3 separate regions of the Homo sapiens genome follow, and regions 2 and 3 are each linked to region 1. Evidence: promoter capture Hi-C in human tissues and cell types (Jung and others, 2019). All regions are on one chromosome and are shown on one strand. Each heading gives the region's core, a stretch centred on a gene start or on the middle of the fragment in contact. The rest is flanking DNA. Distances are from core to core; before and after follow the strand shown.

Evidence for each region. The method cuts DNA at HindIII sites, captures the fragments that hold promoters and counts their contacts. A contact is called where the count stands out against the background at its distance.
Region 2: a fragment that was not itself captured here is called in contact with the fragment with the promoter of MYO3B in region 1 in 2 of the 25 tissues and cell types used here (H1 embryonic stem cells and adrenal gland).
Region 3: a fragment that was not itself captured here is called in contact with the fragment with the promoter of MYO3B in region 1 in 5 of the 25 tissues and cell types used here (H1 embryonic stem cells, IMR-90 fibroblasts, liver and 2 more).

What each region holds. Positions count from the first base shown.
Region 1 is chr2:170,176,897-170,179,973 of GRCh38, forward strand. MYO3B (myosin IIIB) reads left to right here and starts at 1,251. Exons shown (of 35, transcript NM_138995.5): 1 at 1,251-1,393. The coding sequence starts at 1,392. The HindIII fragment of the contact is 10,734 bases long and covers 1-3,077 here.
Region 2 is chr2:170,075,831-170,078,907 of GRCh38, forward strand. All of the region lies in intron 36 of UBR3 (ubiquitin protein ligase E3 component n-recognin 3), which reads left to right. It also overlaps the pseudogene NSA2P5. Among named protein-coding and RNA genes, the nearest start is that of MYO3B, 100 kb to the right of the region's middle. RefSeq lists an enhancer at 1,946-2,725. The HindIII fragment of the contact is 5,181 bases long and covers 1-3,077 here.
Region 3 is chr2:170,106,562-170,109,638 of GRCh38, forward strand. No RefSeq gene overlaps it. Among named protein-coding and RNA genes, the nearest start is that of MYO3B, 70 kb to the right of the region's middle. RefSeq lists an enhancer at 1-322. The HindIII fragment of the contact is 5,361 bases long and covers 1-3,077 here.

The DNA.
Region 1 (3,077 bases), core at 1-2,500:
ATGTGCAAATACTGTAGGAAATATAGGAAGATAGAACACATTATCCCCATTCTTAAGATTCTTATGACAGTAAATGGAAACACAAAGGCCATTATTGACTAGCGGGAGTAAGATCGCTGTCCTTTAAATCACCTTCTTCATATTTGCATTCTCTGTGTGCTGTTTCTTGGCTCTGGGTTTCTCTCCTGCCTCATCTACACTAATCCTTTTCACTTCTTCATTCAAAACTGTACCTAGATTTATCTGCTCCAGGAAGCATTCCCACTCAAGTCTTGGTCCTGGGTTGAACTGACTCCTCCTCAGAATTGATGGATATAGCTTATCCAGTGTTATTGCACAGTCTTCAACTATTTCACATGGGCCTATGTGTCATGTTAGCTGGCCAGAAAAGAAGCTTTCTGGGGACCCTACCCTCCTGTTTCTCACTTCCCCTCTCTCCCTTTTTTTTTTTTTTTTTTTTTTTTGAGATGGAGTCTTACTTTGTTGCCCAGCCTGGAGTGCAGTGGCAGAATCTCTACTCACTGCAACCTCCGTTTCCCAGGTTCAAACAATTCTCCTGCCTCAGCATCCCTGGTAGCTGGGATTACAGGCGCACACCACCATACCCTGCTAATTTTTGTATTTTTAGTAGAGATGGGGTTTCCCCATGTTGGCCAGGCTGGTCTCGAACTCCTGACCTCAGGTGATCCACGAGCCTTGGCCTCCCAAAGTACTGGGATTACAGGCGTGATCCACCATGCCCAGCACCACCCCCCCACCCCCTGCCTCCTCTTAACCTACTGTTCTGTATATAGCCCAGGGCATGCTACTGAATGAATAGTCACTGTTGAATAGTCACTGTTTCATTGCTTGGTAATTCAGATCAGAAACTCATGGTGTTTCCCCTGGGTTTATCTGCAGTTCAGAAAAGTGACCCTGACTACATGCTTTGATTATGCCCTTTGCTCACAAAAAGATGATTAGTTTTGATTGTGCAGCATTTGGAATGAAGGAATTTAATCTGGAATGAAGGAACTTTAAAAGGTTGGGGGAATATCACATTGGAACTGTTAAATGACATGCAAACAGGATCTGTGAGAATGGTTTTGATTCTGCTCTGTGTCCTGGTAGGAGACACTAAATAGATCAGGCTCACTACCAATTAGCATCATCTTAATCTTGCCTAATAGTGAAGCAAAGTCACCAAGGATTTGGTGGATTTATCAGCTCCTCCCACAATAGTCATCTGAGGCTAACACCTCTTGGAACCTAGATCGAAAGTCCTTTGGTAATGATGTGTCATACATTCTAGTCATCAAAGACACCATTTTCTGGGCCTGAAGTGTTCTGCTGGTTTTTGGAGGAATGAGAATCCAATCTCTCATAAGCCGGATTCAGAAAATAGGTCATCGATGTGAGTTGCAGTTATTTTCCTTCCAGCTTTCTTCTGTGCTTGCTTTAGATTGTTTTTCTGCAAAGGGCAGATGCAGCTGCCCTGGCTGGTGGGCAGTGGAGGGGGATGACAGCCACTCTGGCTTTGGGCCTCTGTCTGACATCACCCAGATTCCTGGGTCCTCTCAGTTAGCATTTGCCTTTTGTCTGGGTGGTTAAATTTCTCTTGAAGGAGTAGGATAAACACCCTCTTGAGTATTGCTTTTTACACAGACACACACCACACACACACACACACACACACACACATACACACAGCATAGTTCATAGTCACTTGATTTGCCACCTGCAGTTTATAATAGAATGGACCTGTGGGATTATAAACCACTTTATTTCTGCACAGAATTTCTCAGCTTGAGGCCAAATTGAAGGGCATTAGTCATCAGTAATTTGCAGATGTTTTTAATGTTTTTCACCCAAGAGAGGTTTCAGGCAGCTAAAGCTAAGATAAATTTCCTCATGCTTTGGTGGGGAAATGAAAAATCTGATCATTTAGTTAATCATTTGTAAGAGCTGTGGGTATGTATTGTTCCTTAGTGACTGCAATATCATGACAGATTTGTTAATTTGGTAACATGACAATGTAAACAATAGTAGATAAATTCCATTATGCCATGATTCTTTTCTTCCTCTCAGTAATTTTGTATATTCAAGGTTTAAAATCCATAGAACATTAGAGATGGAACTTAGAGATCAACCTAGAGATCATTGGATTCCTCTACCAAGCTCTGTCAAATGCCAGTCCTGAGTGTCTCCCCTGGAGCATCAGGATAAATAGCTAATGCATGGGGGGCTTAATAGGTGCAGCCAACCCACCATAGCACATGTTTATCTGTGTAACAAACCTGCACGTCCTGCACATGTAACCTGGAACTTAAAATAAAATAAAATTTAAAGAAAGGAAAAGAGTACATAATCAGTGGAACCATAAAGGTCAGTTCTAGTGGGAAAATTAGGAAAGGCCTCCTAGAAGAGAAGACATTTGAGCTATACTTGAACAGGCCCTATCTAGCAGCATCCAGATAGGTGGTTTGTGAAGAAGCCAGTTCCTACTCTTACGTCTTTACCATGGTTATGGTTTGAATGTCCCCTCCAAAGATCATGTTGAAATTTAATTGCCATTGTGAGAAGAAATGGGACCTTTAAGAGGTGACTAGGTCATGAGGGCTCTGCCCTTATGAATGGATTAATGCTGTTATTGTGGGAGACGGCTCCTAGTAAAAGGATAGGTTCAGTCTCCTTTTTCTCTCTCTTGAGCTCTCACTCTCTTGCCCTGTCTCACTATGTGAGACCTTCCACCATGTTATGATGCAGCAAGAAGGCCCTCACCAGATGTGGCCCCTTGATCTTGGACTTCCCAGCCTCCAGAACCATGAGCCAAATAAACTTCTATTGTTTATAAATGATGCAGTCTGTGGTATTCTGTTACAGCAGCAGAAAATGGACTAACACAACTATTATGCACTTGCTTATGTATTGGTTTGGAATTATTCTCTAATTTACTCACGCTTGTATGGTATGTGTTTCCTTATTCTGTGTATCTCTGGGTGTTATATTTAATATTTGTACAGATTTCCTCTGACATTTCACAGTTCAGGTTTCCGATTTCTTCTTTCTAAAATCTATTCTCTAGATTTGAAAGCATT
Region 2 (3,077 bases), core at 358-2,857, 100 kb before region 1:
TTTATCAGTTAAGATTCTTTGTTTGGGAACAACAAAATCCAGTTCTGATTTAAAATAAGGAAAACCAAAGCAAACTATGACAGAAAAAAAAAAAAAAACAGGATTCATTGGAAGCATACTTGGTAACCTGCAGAATTGAAGAGCTTAACTGTCATCGCTTGGGAAGAAGAGAAACCACAAATATCTCTGCTCTGTTTTCTCTGAAGTGCTGCCACCAGATAACTAAGCCTCAACCATTTTCCTTCCTTTAATTTGCATGCTCAAGGTTCAGATTCCTGGGAGAGAGAATCTGGTTGGCCTAACTGTTGTAATACATATACCCCAGTGGTGGGGCAGGATCTTGTGTTGGGGACAGCCCCATCAGAACTGTACGGAGCAAGAAAAGGGGTTATTTTCTAAAAGAACTTATAATGTTATTAATATAAGAAAGCAGCAAAGGATGCTAGGAGGATTTAAAAAACAAACTAGTGGCCCACTACTTTCACATCTTACCTGCCTGGCTCATACACACCCTTCTTCTCATTCACAGTTTCACTTCTGCTGTTGAAAATGATGTAACCATTTTACTTATGACTGCAAATGCATCTGTGACTTTCCCAAATAAGCAACCTGATGTCACATATAGTCCTTACATCATCAGGCCTCTCTGCATCCAGTAGCTCTGAGAGATGTCCATTGTTCCTGTCATTTGTACTCACACCCAGATGGCCTGGAAAATTTTAATTAGTACCTGCTCACCCTGAATTCAATAGTAAGAGAATGAAAATGTTGCAAAGATATATGATACAGTAAGCAAGATTTGCAAGTAGTCATAAAGCTGCAGCTAATATACAGTCAAATATATATGACTTTCTTCTTTTACCATCCGTGATCCAGCACACCTCAACGGATGATTGGATTTGTTTGAGCAAGGATGTGATACCAAACTTTATTCTGAAAGGGCTGAGCTTCTGGTGATTGGTCCTGTCTTTGTTTCTATAAGGCTGTAATCATTCTGTGTTAAATTTCTGCCTTTCAAGCTTGGTCTATGGTAGGGGTGGTGGTAGGGGTTTTTAAGTTCCAAAATATTGCTCTACCAATTGTATGGCAATATTTTTATTCTTCTTGATAGTCATGGTCAATCCCTCCAGGCAATGCGATAAGCCACCCTTGTGATGTTATAAACCGTACTAGAGGTTAGACAGTACATAGCTTGTAAATCCGCAGAAGAGTCCGGAATAGCAGTGAAGCAGAAATTTAAGACCGAATTTTTTTTTCCATTTTAATGTTTACAATTTAATAAATCTCTTGATTGCAGACATGTAAGGCTGTTTGGTAGTATTCAGAAACATCACAGTAATGGCAGTTTTTTCAGTTGGTGTGTAGTCTTCAATAAATATCTATGAAAGTGCTGTCAGACCAGTAAGACTGCATTTATACATCCATCATTTTCAGGATTGTTGGTAACCACAGCCTATTTTCCCCAAATAACCTTGCCTCCTTGTGTCACAAGGCCCAACTCACATTCACCTCAGTAACAGTACCTTTGGTAATAACATCCAAAGTTATATACATTGGGAATGAGGGACTCTTCTTTACACCAAGTATTGTTAGGCAAAAGGTGGCTTTCAGTTCAGGATGTGTTACATGGGCTTTCTTGAAACGCAAGCCCATTGGCCTGATGAATCTTCCATAGATAAGTAGTTTTCTTGTAAAGCCATCTCCAACAAAGCAGACTTTAGTAACCATCCTCCTCTATGCCTGCGTCTTTCTCTTTCCTGTTGGAATAACTTTGAGACAGAGTCTCACTCTGTTGCCCAGGCTTGAGTGCAGTAGAGCGATCTTGGCTTACTGCAACCTCAGCCTCCTGGGTTCAAGTGATTTTCCTGCCTCAGCCTCCTGAGTAGCTGGGATTACAGGCGCCTGCCACTATGCCCAGCTAATTTTTGTATTTTTAGTAAAGACAGGGTTTCACCATGTTGCCCAGGCTGGTCTTGAACTCCTGACCTCAAATGATCTGCCTACCTTGGCCTCCCAAAGTTCTGGGATTACAGGCATGAGCCACTGCACCTGGCTCTGTTCAAATAACTCTTAACACTTCTGTATCTCCCTGGGCAAGTTACATTTAGACAGAGGGACTTTCCATTTTCCTGCTTTCTCTTTTCATTTCGGCTTAATCATACTGGGAAGTACGTTAGCTTGAGGTTGTCCCTCTCTGTCCAGCAGATAGGCAGGTACTGCTCCCTGTGGAGTCTTTCTTTTGTCTGGTGTTTCTCTTTTCATGCATCTTGATGGTCTTTTTCATTTGTATTTTCTCAGCATGGTGCTGTTTAAGATAAAGCTTAGCCTTCAGACCAATCATTTTCTTTGACTTCTTTGAATGTTCATAAGCCTCTCAACTTTCCTTCTTTCCCTTTTTCTCATGGTAATCCAAATGATATCCATGGCATTTACAGTGTAATTCAATATATTTGATCTGTGGCATGGCACAGGCGCAGCCCCTGGGGTGCGAAAATGCTCTCAATTTTTGGGTCTCAGAGACCCACGAGTGAACTCCACACAGGCCGCAACAGGAAAGGCAAGACCGAATTTTAGGTGTAATCATGAGAGGTGTTACAGCTGTTAAATACTTTCCACCTCTTGTTTCCCATACATATGCATTCCAATTGTGAAAAAGGTCACCCATATATACTGGTTGCTGTTTAGAGCATACACATTCTGTAGGTGATTTCTTCCAGCTGGTGCCATCTAAAAGTTTGTAAATTTCATGAATTTCATAATTTTTGTGGCACTGAAAAAATCAGTTTTGTAGTTCATGATTTAAAATACCACAGCTTTTTTCAGATGATTGAATATATGTTAAGATCAGTGAATTCCATGGACATCCACCTGTTGCCTTACATCTCTCTTCATGAGGGAAATTATTGGAGGTAATGTGCTATGGGCTACTGGATAACATGCAGCCTAACCTATAATAAGTGTCAAGTTCAGTGAGGACAAATTGTTATCCCTTCCCTTTAATGGAAGGGTTCCACTGTAATCAACTCATTACAGAATGCCATCCTTGGAGTCCAGGGTTGGGTGCTGAGTATTGGCAA
Region 3 (3,077 bases), core at 348-2,847, 70 kb before region 1:
ATACTTAAGGAAGAACTTCTTAACTGAAGGGCAATTAAACACAAATGGCTTTGCATGGGAGGATATGGAAATCTTGCTCCTTTGTGATCTTTGAAAAGAGGCAGCAGCTGTTGTGAGCAACTTAAGACTCACAGAGTGCTATCCTGGAGGAGGAGGAGGATGAACCACATCCTGGGAATAACTCTCTATACACTTTAACATATTTTCCTGGTGGTCCTTATGCACACTACAGTTTGAGAATCATGGTTATTGAGAAATAAAAGGCTTTCTTTCTCTGCCTAGGCTTAGGCCTTTAATGACCTATTTAGTCTTACATGTGGTGATGGAGACCTCTGCCTAAGCTTATTTTCTACAGGGATGGTACACATGCTGAGAATGAAATGGGAGATGGAGATGCTAAAGGATTTAAAAAGAGGTTTTAGATCAAGGTGTTCTAGGCCAGGTACAGGAGAGGTTTACGGGCTCCTACTTTTGCCAAAAGCTCCCCTTACAACTTTACTATCTGTATGTCCTAAAACCATCTCTGTCTCTTATCTTCCTAAAGTTTTCTACCAAATCTTTTCTTTAATTGAATGATATCTTTATTAAGTAAAAATGAAGGATTCTTTCCATTCCACCATCAGTTCAGATTGGGGACCCAGAATATCCCAAACCTTTATGGGGCAGACAACCATCCCTTCTCAAAGTTTCAGGAAGAACTAGTGGAGCTGGTGAAAATAAAATAGGGGAAGAGCTTAGGGTCATCTAGGAAGCAATTTAATGTCATTTAATATTACAAAAGGAATCTAAAGGCACCTAGCATCTCCAAGTTCCATTTTGACCCCATAACTCAAGAGTTGTGGTTGTGAAAGTCCTTGTTAAGAAGGAAATTTGAAGGAAAGACTATTAAGTAGAACATTTCAGACATCCCCTTTACGGCCACTGGAGATTCTACCGGAGCAGCTCCCTCCAGCTGACCTGATGGGTTACAGCTCAGCTCTGGGTCGTTTTTTGGATTCCTCCAGATTTCTGCCAAGCCCTGGGTTGCCCATTCCTCTCCTCCTATCAGCATTCCCATGTTTATCAGTCTGTTTCAAGCTCTCTTTGAATGGCCTCCTGCTGGTGGATGACCCTGTCATTATTAGGATGTCCCATGCCTCAAACTCCTTTTACCCTCCACAGACTTTTATCCTTATTTCAAGTTGATGCAGGGCAGATAATGGTTTTCCTGACCTTTTGTCTCCTCTGCCTTAGATACAGAAAGAACCCTGATCCTGTGTCTATGGGTGGCAGTCAACTTGGGGTCATGAAAATTGCCAGCTTCTTATAAACAGAGCTCTGAAACATGCCAGAATTTATTGTTCAAGCACCTGAACAAGCCAATTCAGCCCAAACAGGGTAAACCCACACTCTAAGCCCAGGCCCACTTCGTGTGAATAGCTCACCCACCTCCCCAACCCCTGCAAGTTCCATGAATCTTGCCCCATAGCAGGCTACAGCCAGTCTTTGCTTATGGTAACTCCAAACTGGTTCTAAAAGTTTCTTCCAGGAGATTCACACAAAATACTTTTCTCCTAGCAGAGCAGCTTGGTTTGATTTGGGCTATTTGACTACAAAAGCCCAGAGGCCATGCATTTATTTCAAAATATTAGGAATCAGCAGCACAAATGAGATTGCATTTTTGTGAAAAGTTAAAGATTTCTCATTTAGGGAGAGAGTTCACAAAGGACCCCATTAGCCAAGCCTCACCAGTAATTAGTCTGATTTCTCATGCAAAAGGCAGGCTAATTGTCTGCCATCCATTCCAAAAGACAGAGACACTTTAAAACCTACCACCCATTGAAAAATATCTCTGGAGAATTTTCTGCTATATCTGAAGTATTTTCCATTAACGAAATGTTCAAACTAAAATTAATATATGAAGTTATGAACAAAGTGGCTGACTATAAATATGTCTTTTCAAATGTCAAAACATGGGCCTATTACTTATGACACTGAACTATAGAGAAATGGAAAGGGGCTGATATTTATAAAGCAATACTGTGAAATATACATTATTATTTAATAGATGGGGCAACTGAAGCTCAAAGAAGGTAAACAACTTTCCCAAAGTCACACAACGAGTTAGTGGCAGAGCTGGGATTCAATGGGTTAAAGCGAATATCATTTCCACAACCCAATGTGGAGCTTAGGAAGAAAGCAACATCGAGTTAGGGGTGTTTGAGGCTGGGTATCGAGAGATCTGCAGGATGGTCTAGTTTAACTGTGTGATCTCTCAAGGGACAGAATCCATTAGCCAAGTGCATATGATGAGAACAAAGTTGAAACCAGTGTAGCAGAGCCGGTTTTTGAGCCTAACCTGTGCTCACCTGAGAGCTGGACTTGTCTCACTAGGTTTGATAGACCAATGGCCCATCTAGGATATATGCACATAGCATGTTGGCCCATGACAGTGTCCTGGAGGACACGGCTATAGTCAAACTCATGCACACGAAGCCTGCAGCAGCAATGGTGCTGTATGCTTCAGAAACATTTCTCTCCATGCAGACAACTTGAGACACTGGCAGCTTTGGTGTGAATCGCTCACCCACCTCCCCAACCCCTGCAAGTTCCATGAATGCATCAAGAGGTCCCTGGAAGCAGCAAAGCCATGCTAGATCAGAAACACTGACCTCTTGGCTTCTTCCTCTCTGCTCCTCTCTAATGCCAGAGTGTGGCTCTATTCACTCCAGCTTGTCCACATAATGTCCTCTGCTCCTGCTCCTCCATTCCAGTAGGCAATGACTGCTGCCACTGTTCCCATGCTGCACCCCAAGGTCTCCCAGCAGTCACAATGCTGGGGTGGGGTGAAGTCCCTTCGTCCTGAGTTCCCAAAGCCACAGCCCTTCTGTTTCTTCAAGAGTTTTCATGGGTTCTGCCCCATTATTGATACCTCCTTCAGTCCTATGGGTCCCTAGGAGCCACATAGAAATAGACCCCCAATGAGCCTGTGCTACTGCACAAAAATGTACAGATGTGACTAAAGGCACAGATGTGGCTAAAGCTTCAGTGGGGTGTAGGACAGATCTGTGAGTACTAAACTTGGGAGTATTTTAGAC